Regions from separate parts of the Homo sapiens genome. Here region 2 is linked to region 1. The links are contacts of gene promoters, found by promoter capture Hi-C in blood cells and fetal thymus (Javierre and others, 2016). All regions are on one chromosome and are shown on one strand. The core of a region is centred on a gene start or on the middle of the fragment in contact, and the rest is flanking DNA. Distances in the headings are between cores, read along the strand shown.

Region 1 (5,771 bases), core at 1,431-3,930:
AGGGTTGTTGTCTTTTCTAGTCCTTTATAAACAGATCTTTTGTAAATAAACCCTCCGTGCATTATCCTAATTTGAATGTGCTGTCTGATTCCTGTTAAGACCCTGACAGATTCACCCCTCCCACCAAAACAACATCCCCATTTGTGCTGTCTTACTAGGGTAACCACCAGCCACCTAGGGGTATTGAGCATTTGAAATGCGGCTAGTCCCAACTGAGATGTGCAGAAGTGTAACATTCACACTGGATTCCAAAGACTTAGTATGAAAAGAAAGAACATACATGACTTCAATCATTTTTATATTGACTACATGTTACAGTCACATTTTTGGATGTATGGGACATATTATGAAAAGATAACTTTCTCTGCTTCTTTTTTAACCTTTTGTAAGGTGCTAATATTTACTAGAAATTAGCCTGGGCAACATGGCAAAACCCCATCTCTACAAAAAACAACAACAAAAAATTAGCTAGGTGTAGTGGCACATGCCTGTAGTCCCAGCTACTCAGGAGGCTAAGGTGGGAAGATCACTTGAGCCCGGGAGGCAGAGGTTGCAGTGAGCCAAGATTGTGCCATTGCACTCCAGCCTGGGTGACAGTAGACCCCATTTCAAAAAACACAGAAAAAAATTACTAGAAATTGAAAATTATCCATGCAGCTTTTATTTGTGGCTCACATTTTGCTTCTAAAGTGCAGAGCTGCCCTACATGTCATGCAAGTGATGGTGAGAACCATGTTTCCTACATCGAGCATCTTTAATACCCACGTAAAGGAAAGACCTGTGCTCAGAAAGTGAAAGACTAAACACATGCTATGATGTCATGTTGGAGCTAGAAGGGAACTTCGAGTCCATCATTTTCCAGTCCAGGAAACTGGGGCATGTTTATAAGCATTCACGGGACTGCATGCCTTCAAAACAACTTAAAAATGGTCTTTGTTTTGTTGTCTTCCTTCTGCAAATCTGACTGAAGTACTTAGGGAAAAAATGTGAAAACACAGGAAAGTTTAAGTTAGCATTAGATCTCAACTGGTTTGTCAATATCCAATTTTAGAACACAAAAGGACATTACAGCTTGGCAGGGCTTGTCCATCCTCGTAAACGCCCAGCGCTTTACGGCATCAGAATCTAAAAAGCTCTTCACTGGTTGTCGAATCAGTTGGGATTGGTAGTTCATAAACATAAAACCATAAACCATATCCAGCAGTGAGTATTTATCTAGCAGGGCACAAATTCATGGATCCATGCAAGCCCAGAGTTAGAACCACTAGGTGCCCCTTGGAAGCTGAAAAAGTGGAAGCTGACTTCCACTTCCGTGGTCAAATAGAGCACAGAAAGGCTGCGAAGTTCCTGCATGGGGACGCAGAAATGCCTGGTAAGTTTCCTGCACCGTGGACCTTGAGCCTGCGGTGGGCCCTTGTTAGCACCCGCAGAGGTCCCAGAAAGCTGCCTCCACAGCTTGCAGGGGCTGGTAAGAAGCTCCCAAGCTACCGCCCACATGGTGAGGCAACCTGTGGAGGCAAGGAAGCCAAAAAATAAGGAACAAATAGGATTAGAACAAAAAACCACCTCATGCAGCTTCCACGGGCCACCTCCCTCCATTAGACAGCAAGGCGGTTTGTATCCCTTCCTGACCTGCTCTCCGGGGAGCGCACGAAGAGGATATAGGGTCAGGGGAGGCAAGGGAAAGAGGAAACCGCAGTTTATGAAAGGACATTTAACCTCTTTGCGAGCGTGCATGCGCGCGCGCGCACACACACACACACACACACACACACACAAAAGTACAAACAACATTAAGGAAATACACACTACATTAAAAATTGGGCATAGGGACTTGGAATCGGAGTTGAATTTTTTTTAAATTTTAATTTTGCCTTTGATTTATGCATTGGTTTTTTTTTTTTTCGTAAGAGGTTGTTCCTTTCTAGGCCCTGGAGGACTGTATCATCTTATACAAATCCAAGGGAAAACAATCAAAATAAGAAAAGAAAAGAAAACAAACAAACAAAAAACAGACTGATACGAGAAAGAGCTTTGCTCCAAGACCCGCAGCAGACAGTTGAGTAGGTAGAAGTCCAAGCTGCTGCAGAGGAATTCGGTTTGCTCCAGACAAACGGGGGCGTGGCGTGCAGCGCAGTACTGGGAACTGCTGCAAACAAAACTTCCAAGGGGACGAGGAGTAGGTTCCAGGCGATGGAAAGCAGTGGGATGGGGAAGGATAGGGCAACAGTGCCAAGAGGGGAGCAGAGCGCGGGGAACCTGGAGAGGGAGGGTCAGGGCTGCGGAGGGCTGAGCTGCGGTGGAGAGCTCTGGGGCCCCTCACCAAGCTAGTGGCGTCTTGGGTGGAAGTCAGGCCCCCAGAGATCCGGCCGGCCTTAGCTGTCACTCAGGCAACCCCGGAGCCGCCGCAGACACCGGATCCACTGGAAGGGGGCGAAGCCGCGGGGAGGAATGGGGGACACTGGGGAAGGGGCGTCGCCCCTGCCGCCCCCGCCCTCTCCAGTGCCATTGGGCGGCTGCTGCGGAGCCCGCGCCACCTTTTCTCCATCCCACCCCGCCCGTCTGGCCCCGCCTGGCCGCTGGTCCGCGCCCCGCTGCGCTCGTCCGGGGGCTGGTCCGGCCCGGGCCTTTGACGTCACCAGCAAGTTTGCTGCCCTCGGCGTCCCACGTGTGGCGGCGGCCAGCGGCGGCCCAGGAGGCAGCCGGTGAGCGCCTGCGAGCAGAGTGGCGGGGGCCGCTGACAGGTCCCGCGCAGCCCAGCCCAGCCCAGCCACGCGGCTCACAGGTGGGGTCCAAGAGCAGTTTGGAGCAACCCGGCGCTACGGAGAGGGGTGGACGGCTCTGCACGGGCCTCCTGTCTCCCGCTCGGGCAGAGGGACTCGGGGGGACCTCGCTCCTTGGCTGAGAGAACCTGAACTCGGGCGGAGAGAACGCGCCCAGGCGGGCAAGGGGACCAGAGAAAGCCGGGGCTGGAAGTCACTGTCGCTCGCCACTGTCTGGAGCGCACGGAGCGCAGAGGCCCGGCAGCCGCGCGTGCCCTCACGGGGACCGAGCCAGTGATGCAGGATCGCTGAGCGGAGATCCGCGCCGAGAAGTCTCTCGGGGCCGGGGCTGAGACGCACGCCTTCGACACCGCTGCCAAGACCCCGATTCCGGCGACTCTTGCGGGGAACCGAGGGGCCAAGGCTGCCCCAAGCTCAGGACTTGGGCGAGTCTAAGACGATGGTTTCTTAAGCACGGACCCGCGTTCCCCTTCCCGCTCCCTCGACTGGAGGCAGGGATCCTGCGCGGGGCCCCCGGGATTCCGTTTCCCCGCGGAGCCCCGGCCGCTGCCTCCCGGGACAGTTCGCACGGCCACAGGGGCGCACGGCGATGTGGCCTCCGTCCAGCGCGCTGGCCCGCCGGGGGGATGCTCTGGCACCTGTCGGGGTCCAGGCCTAGCATGGCCGGCGCGTTGCCCGACGTCGCCTCCGGCTAGGATGGCCCCTCCGGGCCCGGCCAGTGCCCTCTCCACCTCGGCCGAGCCGCTGTCCCGCAGCATCTTCCGGAAGTTCTTGCTGATGCTCTGCTCCCTGCTCACGTCCCTTTACGTCTTCTACTGCCTGGCCGAGCGCTGCCAGACCCTGTCCGGCCCCGTCGTGGGGCTGTCCGGCGGCGGCGAGGAGGCGGGGGCCCCTGGTGGCGGCGTCCTGGCCGGAGGCCCGAGGGAGCTGGCGGTGTGGCCGGCGGCGGCACAGAGAAAGCGCCTCCTGCAACTGCCGCAGTGGCGGAGGCGCCGGCCGCCCGCGCCCCGCGACGACGGCGAGGAGGCGGCCTGGGAAGAAGAGTCCCCTGGCCTGTCAGGGGGTCCGGGCGGCTCCGGGGCCGGAAGCACCGTGGCCGAGGCCCCGCCGGGGACCCTGGCGCTGCTCCTGGACGAAGGCAGCAAGCAGCTGCCGCAGGCCATCATCATCGGAGTGAAGAAGGGCGGCACGCGGGCGCTGCTGGAGTTCCTGCGCGTGCACCCCGACGTGCGCGCCGTGGGCGCCGAGCCCCACTTCTTCGACCGCAGCTACGACAAGGGCCTCGCCTGGTACCGGTGAGCGGGGCGGGCCCGGGCTGGGGCTGAAGGATCCGGGGGTCCTGGGCTGGGAAAGACGTGGAGGAGCCCTCGGTGACCCCCAGTTCGCCCTCCTCCCCACTTCATGCAGAAGGCGAAGGGTCGTCAAGGGTCTTTCTTCCCTCTCCGCCTTCTCCTTCCTGGGAAGTGGATGTTGAAGGAGAGAGTGGGAGGGAAATTCTGGCCTTCATAATTTTCATCCTTGGGAATCCCTTGCCAGCAAATAGCCAGTCTGGTCTCTTTCTCCTGCTCTGCGAAAGTATTCATGTATTTAACTAAAGGAAAAAAAAAAAGTCTCTTCTAAATTAGAAACCTGTTCAACAATTAATAGATTGCCTTCTCCTTCCCAAGGAAGCCCGTTTTCATTCTTTATCTTTTGGAAAGTTCTTTGTGGTTAACACAGTCTTTACCATCAGGTATTTATTTACCTTGACCTTTTGCCAGATAGTTGTCCTAGGTGGGAAGTAATATAGAGACTTAGTAAAAGTGTCAAGAACCAGAGAATCTGGGTAGTTTGGAAAATATATGTCTGTCTGAGCAAGGGAAAGCAACCAGGCACTGTATTTTAAAGGACGCTTGGCAATAACTTTTGTTTGAGGGCAAGGAATGAGTTTTGTAAAGTGCTTTTGATATTTGCAGGGAAAAGTAACTTTTGTCTTTTGACTGACAGAAACTTTTCTAAAGATCTTCAATCCTCTTTACAAATAAGGTAGCCAATTAAAAGAAGAAGACAACAGAGAGAAAAATACATTGGCACAACTTTGCCAATACAGTTTAGGAAATAAGTCTGGCTTAGATCTTAATCTTAAATTTGCCAGTCTCTTCAAATTCAGACCACCTTTAATAATAAAATCAGCCAGATTCTAATAAAGCTAGTGTCGCCTGGATTTTGTTTGCCATAATATATTGGCTTTTTTTTTCTTTCTTCAAAGTACCAGTAAAAATTATGTTGCTAGAATTTTCCATTTTATAAAGTTTATCTTGTTCATAAAAGATGCATTCTCTTTGTTATTTTAACTGAAACAGTTACAAAAATTACAACATAATTTAGGTATTTTCAAAAAGCCCATTAAATTAATCATTCATCCCCAACACAGAAATGGATATGATTTGACAAGTTTATTTACTTGAGGGGCCAATTGCAGTCTCAGATTGATTTCAGGAGCCGAATTTACAGTCAATCCACTCAGAGAGAAAAGATTTGGCCCTAAAAATAGAATTTGAACATTAAACACTTTTAAAACAGTAACTTTCCATTTGTTGGAAAGAAAAAACAAACAACCTTCCCTTAATATAGATGATATATCATTTAAAATCATCAGCCACTTAAAATATCCCCTTGTGTTTCTGTCATTTATGTTGTATCCTCTGGGAAGTTCTTATAAAAATGACCTGTTGAATCTGGAAACAACAGGTCCTTCTTTTTAGCACAAAGGCAGCTCTGTTTTTTCCATCAAGGACACGAGAAAGAAGTGATTAAAGACCCCTAAAACTCTTATCTATAGCAGTTTGCATTGAATTCGGCCTCGTACTGTGCTGTAAGCGAACACATTTCAAGCTGACTGTCTGAAACATCTAACACTATGTTGGGCTCTGAGGTGCTATTAAATATGGTGAAATATTTAGTACTAAAACCCTTTATTTTCCTTTTGCCATATAAACTTTATTTCCA
Region 2 (5,771 bases), core at 1,150-3,649, 1.6 Mb before region 1:
CACTCACAGTCTAGTCTGCGCATTCCAAAATTTAAATCTACATGTTTAGAATTTCAAATGATACTGTTTGGAATTTATACTGGTTCTCTCTCTCTCTCTCTCTCTCTCTCTCTCTCTCTCTCTCTCTCTCTCTCTCCTTCTCTCTTTAAAAAAATTTCAGATGGAGCCAAGGTAACATAAGATTTTTAAATGCCTAAGCTGTATTACTGCATCACAGATATAGGATATACAATCTTCAACATGTTGATTCCTCTTGTTTGGGCCAGTAGGTTTAAGAGTTGGGGAGTTACGACGATCATCTTGAGATGCTTACATGGTTAGGACCTAAGTCTCTGAGAAATACAAGGTGAGTCTATATCTCAGATAGACTGCAGCTGAAAAACTTTTCCTAATTGTCTATCAGGATGTTGAGTACAAAATCATCCCTTTTACCCTCTTACTCTTTTGGGTTCCATTAGATATTTTCCAGGATAATTCTATTGCTCTGCCAAATTAAGAATAACAACAGCAACAACACAAAAATCATTTTCTGGTGCATTTTCCTAAAATTTATAACACCATTCTGTATTCATTCTATTCATCCTAAAGCAGGTGAATCTTGTTTTATTTATTTGAACTCTAGAAGTATAGGAAACACTTTCATTACCTATGTAGATAGATGATATCAGCCTTAAATATTTAAATTACTGGCGCTTTTCTTGTTCCACTGCCATATAGGTAATTCAAGAAGGCATCATTAACAATTTATGGGTTTCAAAATAGATTTCCAGCAGGGGGAGCCCCTGCTTGGGTAATAGAACTATTGGCTCTCTTGTTCCTCTTACCTAACTTCAAACCCACAAACTAAAAATTTTGAATAGAATTCATTTTCATAATTTTTTTCACTCCTAGCTGTACTTGTGCACTAAGCAAAATATACTTTTTAAATGGTCAATGAAATGAACCAAATGACTATTTCTATGTGTAGACCCCAGGGCAGGAGGCTCCCAGGGGTGAGCCACTGGCTTTGGTGGCTGGCTAGCTGACTACGAACCACCTGAGGCTGTTTGGAATTTCTTCCATCTGTCTCCAGGGCTTGTTGATCCCACAGTATTTGTCTTGCAGTGAAGAGACATGCTTTTAACACACTGGGAAGCTTTAAATGGGTGTCTGGTTTGTTACTTTGAGTCATTTTCACCCGAAGCCTTCTTAACCATCATGCTGCTTCAGATGAAGCCACTGATGAGAAAAGTGAAGCGTGAGATCGATCCTTTGCAAGGCTCAGCACTAAAGTCCCACCATGGACTTTATCTCGTGCCCTCAGGGGCAGAGCGTTTTAGGTGGTCCCTCTTTAGGGAAAGAAATGAAAGTGGCCTTGTAGTGATTTCTCTGGATTAGGGGAAGAAGAACGCCTAGAGTTCATAAATTCAATCCCATCATTGTCTCCACAATGCCAAACAATGGTGTTTATTTGTTGTTGTTTTTTCATTCTTGAATTGACTAGGAAGTTAGCTTGCTCTAACTTGTCATTAAAAAAGCCATGTAGCCCAGGCATGGTGGCTCACACCTGTAATCCCAGCACTTCAGGAGGCCAAGGAGGGTGGATCACGAGGTCAGGAGTTCGAGATCAGCCTGGCCAATATGGTGAAACCTCGTCTCTACTAAAAATACAAAAATTAGCCAGGCGTGGTGGCATGAACCTGTAGTCCCAGCTACTCAGGAGGCTGAGGCAGAAGAATCACTTGAACCCGGGAGGCAGAGGTTGCAGTGAGCCAAGATCACGCCACTGGACTCCAGCCTGGGTGACAGAGCAAGACTCTGTCAAAAAAAAAAAAAAAAAAAAAAAGGCCGTATAAGCCTCAAGAGGCGGCCAGCCCTGTGTGAGGTGGAAGTTAAGAGCATGGGGTTCAGGCATCTTGCATTCAAATCCAGCTTTTTCACTGACTGTGGGATGTTATTTGAACTTTCCAAGATAATAATAGTATCTATATCACAGAGGTGAGTGCTAAGTGACATAATGCTGGCAAATAGTAAGCACCTAATATGTGTTAGGTATTATTGTTACTGTTGTGTTTATTAGGCCCTGTTTGTCTTTGGGGACTTAGAGTTTTTCATTTGAAGTCCTTCAATTCTCTTCCTCATTCCTACCATCTCCCCTTCACCCCTGCAGCTTGCTGAAAACTGTAGGACACACAGGCAACTGTTAATACTTCAGACACTATAGAAATATCATAATATCGTTTCATACGGGCTATACAATGTGGCATCATTAAAACATAATTGGCTAGGGTTGAGCAGAGGGAACAGTGAAATTAATTATAAACTAATGTTTATATTCACTGTGCAAATAAAGACCCTAAGAAAGACAACAGGCCGGGCGCGGTGGCTCACGCCTGTAATCTCAGCACTTTGGGAGGCCGAGGTGGGTGGATCACCTGAGGTCCAGAGTTCGAGACCAGCCTGACCAACATGGAGAAACCCTGTCTCTACTAAAAATACAAAATTAGCCGGGCGTGGTGGCGCATGCCTGTAATCCCAGCTACTCCGGAGGCTGAGGCAGGAGAATGGTTTGAACCCGGGAGGCGGAGTTTGCTGTGAGCCGAGATCGCGTCGTTGCACTCTAGCCTGGGCAACAAGACCAAAACTCCATCTCAAAAAAAAAAAAGAAAGACAACAAAAATGACAGGGACAGATCTTCCTTTAGGAAGTTTACAACCTTGTTGGAGAAGGTAATTTAGACTCTTGGGAATGTATCAGGGTAATTAAGGGGTCATATGAATATAGGCTTTGATTAAGTAATGAGCAATGTTTGAATTTTGCCCACAGTCTATTTATCCAACAAAATAAGGTTTCCAATAAATATTTATTGTTATAGTAAAAGATCATCTGTACAGAATGTCTTGGACAAGACCTATACAGATTTCATAATGCTCCTGGAGTTTAACTATATTATTTCCAAAAACGCATTTTCTTTTGTTGCCCTTTGATGAAGTGCCAACATCTTCTGGATGTATTTTCTTTGTTTTCTGATCCATTAATGGATCAGGAGCTAGGATATCAAAGGAGCAAGGTATAATGCGTATTTTGAATTACAGGCCTTTAGAGATCAGTAGATGCTGGAAGAGACTTTTCCCCTATCTGCATAAAGACTGGGCAGATCCACCAAGGAGAACATTGTTTTTCCTCCCTCCCTTGCTGTCAGTCCTTAACCTCTCCTGAAGCACAGGATGAAGCTGTTCTCTGAAGTATCTGCCTAAAGTCCAGACCTACCAGAGTACAAAACAATTACCACTTGTCTTTCCTGAGTTTTCGTGAACTGAACCCATATCATAAGAAAGAAGACTAAAGTCTGTTAACAAACCTAGAGACTTTTTTCACAAACCACTTTCTTCCCTGTGGGCCTAACAGACTTTGTCTAAGACCGTTGTATGTTCTTCAAACCCATTGAGTTCCCCTAAAAATAAATCATTTACAATCTCCCAAAAATCATCCACACTTCCCATCTCCCTTTCCCCTAAGAAGTAGGGTATATCACCATCCATATCCCACTGGGATACTGGGCAACCACTGTGATTCTTCCCCTGTGCATGGTAGTAATACATTTGTATGCTTTTTCTCTTCTTAATCTGCTTTTTTATTAGTTCATTTTTCAGTGAACCTTCCAAGAGCAAAGGGGAAGCTTTCCCTTCACCACTGCAATATAAAATATATATTTGAATAATTATAACTCAGTGCTTTACAACATTACCCACCTAAATATATAAAGGACTGAGAATTTTGTGTTATCACTGAGGCCACTGTGGCATTCCCATCATCTTCCTACACAGCCCACATCACCATGTAGAATGGCTCATCACCACATCACCAGCTAGATTTCACCCCATGCCCCACATTGGAACAGATTCATATATGTACTCTAGAGCCCAGAAGAGTGCTCCGCATATGTGCTGTATGTATGTAACTAGCTCATTTACATTTTGCATACCAGCAATTTCATATGATTTCTGAACAAAATTTCTACTAGCACACAAGCTAATAATTGCTCATCTACATTGGACTGGGCAAAGCTCCTTTCCAAAGCTACAGGTCTGGCTCATGGAAAGCCCATGTGACATTCCACATACAGTCACCTCTCTGTGATCAGAGCAACCAGCCAGCCACAGCATCCTGCATTTTGCTTGTCCAGATGTGAATTAGAAGCCTGCTTTTTTTTGTCCCTCAAATTACAGGGGACACATATCAAATTATCTCAGTGGTTGTTAGGAAGCAGAAGGTTAATTATGTTGACTCCAATCCCCTGCAGTAAGAATCAGAGACTCCTGCAGGAAAGGGCAGTGTTCAAAACTTTCAATTGACAAGAGAGTAAGCATTGACTCTGCCCAGAACATGGTAGTCATCCGGATCCTATAAATGTAATCCTGGAATTGTGACTGGAAAGGAATAGGGAGCCCCAGAGGAGCGTGTGGGTTTGGTTGTTTGGAAATTTGCTTGAGTTAAATAGGTAATACAGGTCCTAGTTTTCAATTATTCCCTCATCCCTCCCTTTTTCTTTTGCCCATTTTATGTCATGCAACATATTTCTATCATCCAGGATCAGTTGGAACTGAGGAGTGCCCATACTGTTCCCCTCTTCCCAAAACCCTCGTGGGTGGAGTGGGAAGCGACAAGGTATGGAGAAGGATGACAGGGTGGACACAAAATCTCATTTTAGTTGTCGAAAAAAAGTCCTAGAAAACAGAGTCTACAGAGATGGCCCCCATGACAAAGGCTCCAATGGCACTGATTTTTCTCCATTTCAAGGCACCAGAAATTTTTTTTTCTTTAATTTGAGAAAAGGGAGAGGGAAAGATCTTCTAGAAGTGTGTGTACAACAATAATAATGCTATAACTACTTGTCAAATGCTTACTAAAGAAATTAGTATAATTCTCAATACCAAGTTTCAGATTTTGATCCATGTGTTCTGGGCTAGATTGAGGACCTTAAACTGGCCTCTCTTTATTGGACTTCTCCAGAGAGTCACTCTTACTCCTGACTCCACGAAAGAAAAGTTTACTGTTATAAAATTTTGTATTTTTTTTCAACGACCTTGCTCTTTTCTCCCATACTCCTCTATATAATCTGCCATTTGGGTGGGAGGAAGCTCTAGAGGTCTGTAATGGAGACAGTAAAGCAGGGTTTGCAGGAGGAAGAGCTGTTGAGGAATTTTTGCGGGAACAGGAGTTGTGGTGGCCACTCTAGGACTGCAAGGTACCCCACAGGACACACGGGAGACACACTTCAGACTGAGCTGGGGGAACTTGACATTACAAAAGTAAATGACTCTTCTCAGGGAGCTTTAGAGATTTCCAATGGTAAGGAAGGATGAGTACAAAGAACTAGGACCAGTTGAACACACCCAGCTGTTCCCAAAATGCCACTTGCACTCTCTTTCTAAAAATGAAGTGTTAAGTCACAGAGAGGAGAAAAGAGATGACTGCCTCCCTTTTTCTGCTATATATGGAACCTTCAGTCATTTGTTGTAGGTGAGTTGCAAGCATTTAAAGGAATTAGTTGACCTTCGTGTTTTGCATAAATACTGATCACAGAGAAACTTTAGAGTATTGTCAAATGGTCTAGATCTGCATTGTCTCACACAGTAGCTCTTAGCACCATGTGGCTATTGTAAAATGTGGCTGGTGTGACTGAAGACCTGAATATTTAACTTTCTTTTCTTATAATTAATTTATATGCAACTCAAATACAGAATATTTGAAATTAATTTCATCTCTTTGCTTGTACATTTTTGAAAATA

Evidence for each region. Contacts are between HindIII fragments. The CHiCAGO score rates a contact against its expected background, and 5 or more counts as called.
Region 2: a fragment that was not itself captured here is called in contact with the fragment with the promoter of HS3ST3A1 in region 1 in 3 of 17 cell types (M2 macrophages, M1 macrophages and M0 macrophages); the score reaches 16.7 in M2 macrophages.

The regions. Positions count from the first base shown.
Region 1 is chr17:13,598,838-13,604,608 of GRCh38, reverse strand. HS3ST3A1 (heparan sulfate-glucosamine 3-sulfotransferase 3A1) reads left to right here and starts at 2,680. Exons shown (of 2, transcript NM_006042.3): 1 at 2,680-4,078. The coding sequence starts at 3,480. RefSeq lists a silencer at 1,963-2,257 and an enhancer at 3,106-3,726. The HindIII fragment of the contact is 9,085 bases long and covers 1-5,771 here.
Region 2 is chr17:15,208,892-15,214,662 of GRCh38, reverse strand. No RefSeq gene overlaps it. Among named protein-coding and RNA genes, the nearest start is that of MIR4731, 40 kb to the left of the region's middle. The HindIII fragment of the contact is 2,523 bases long and covers 1,138-3,660 here.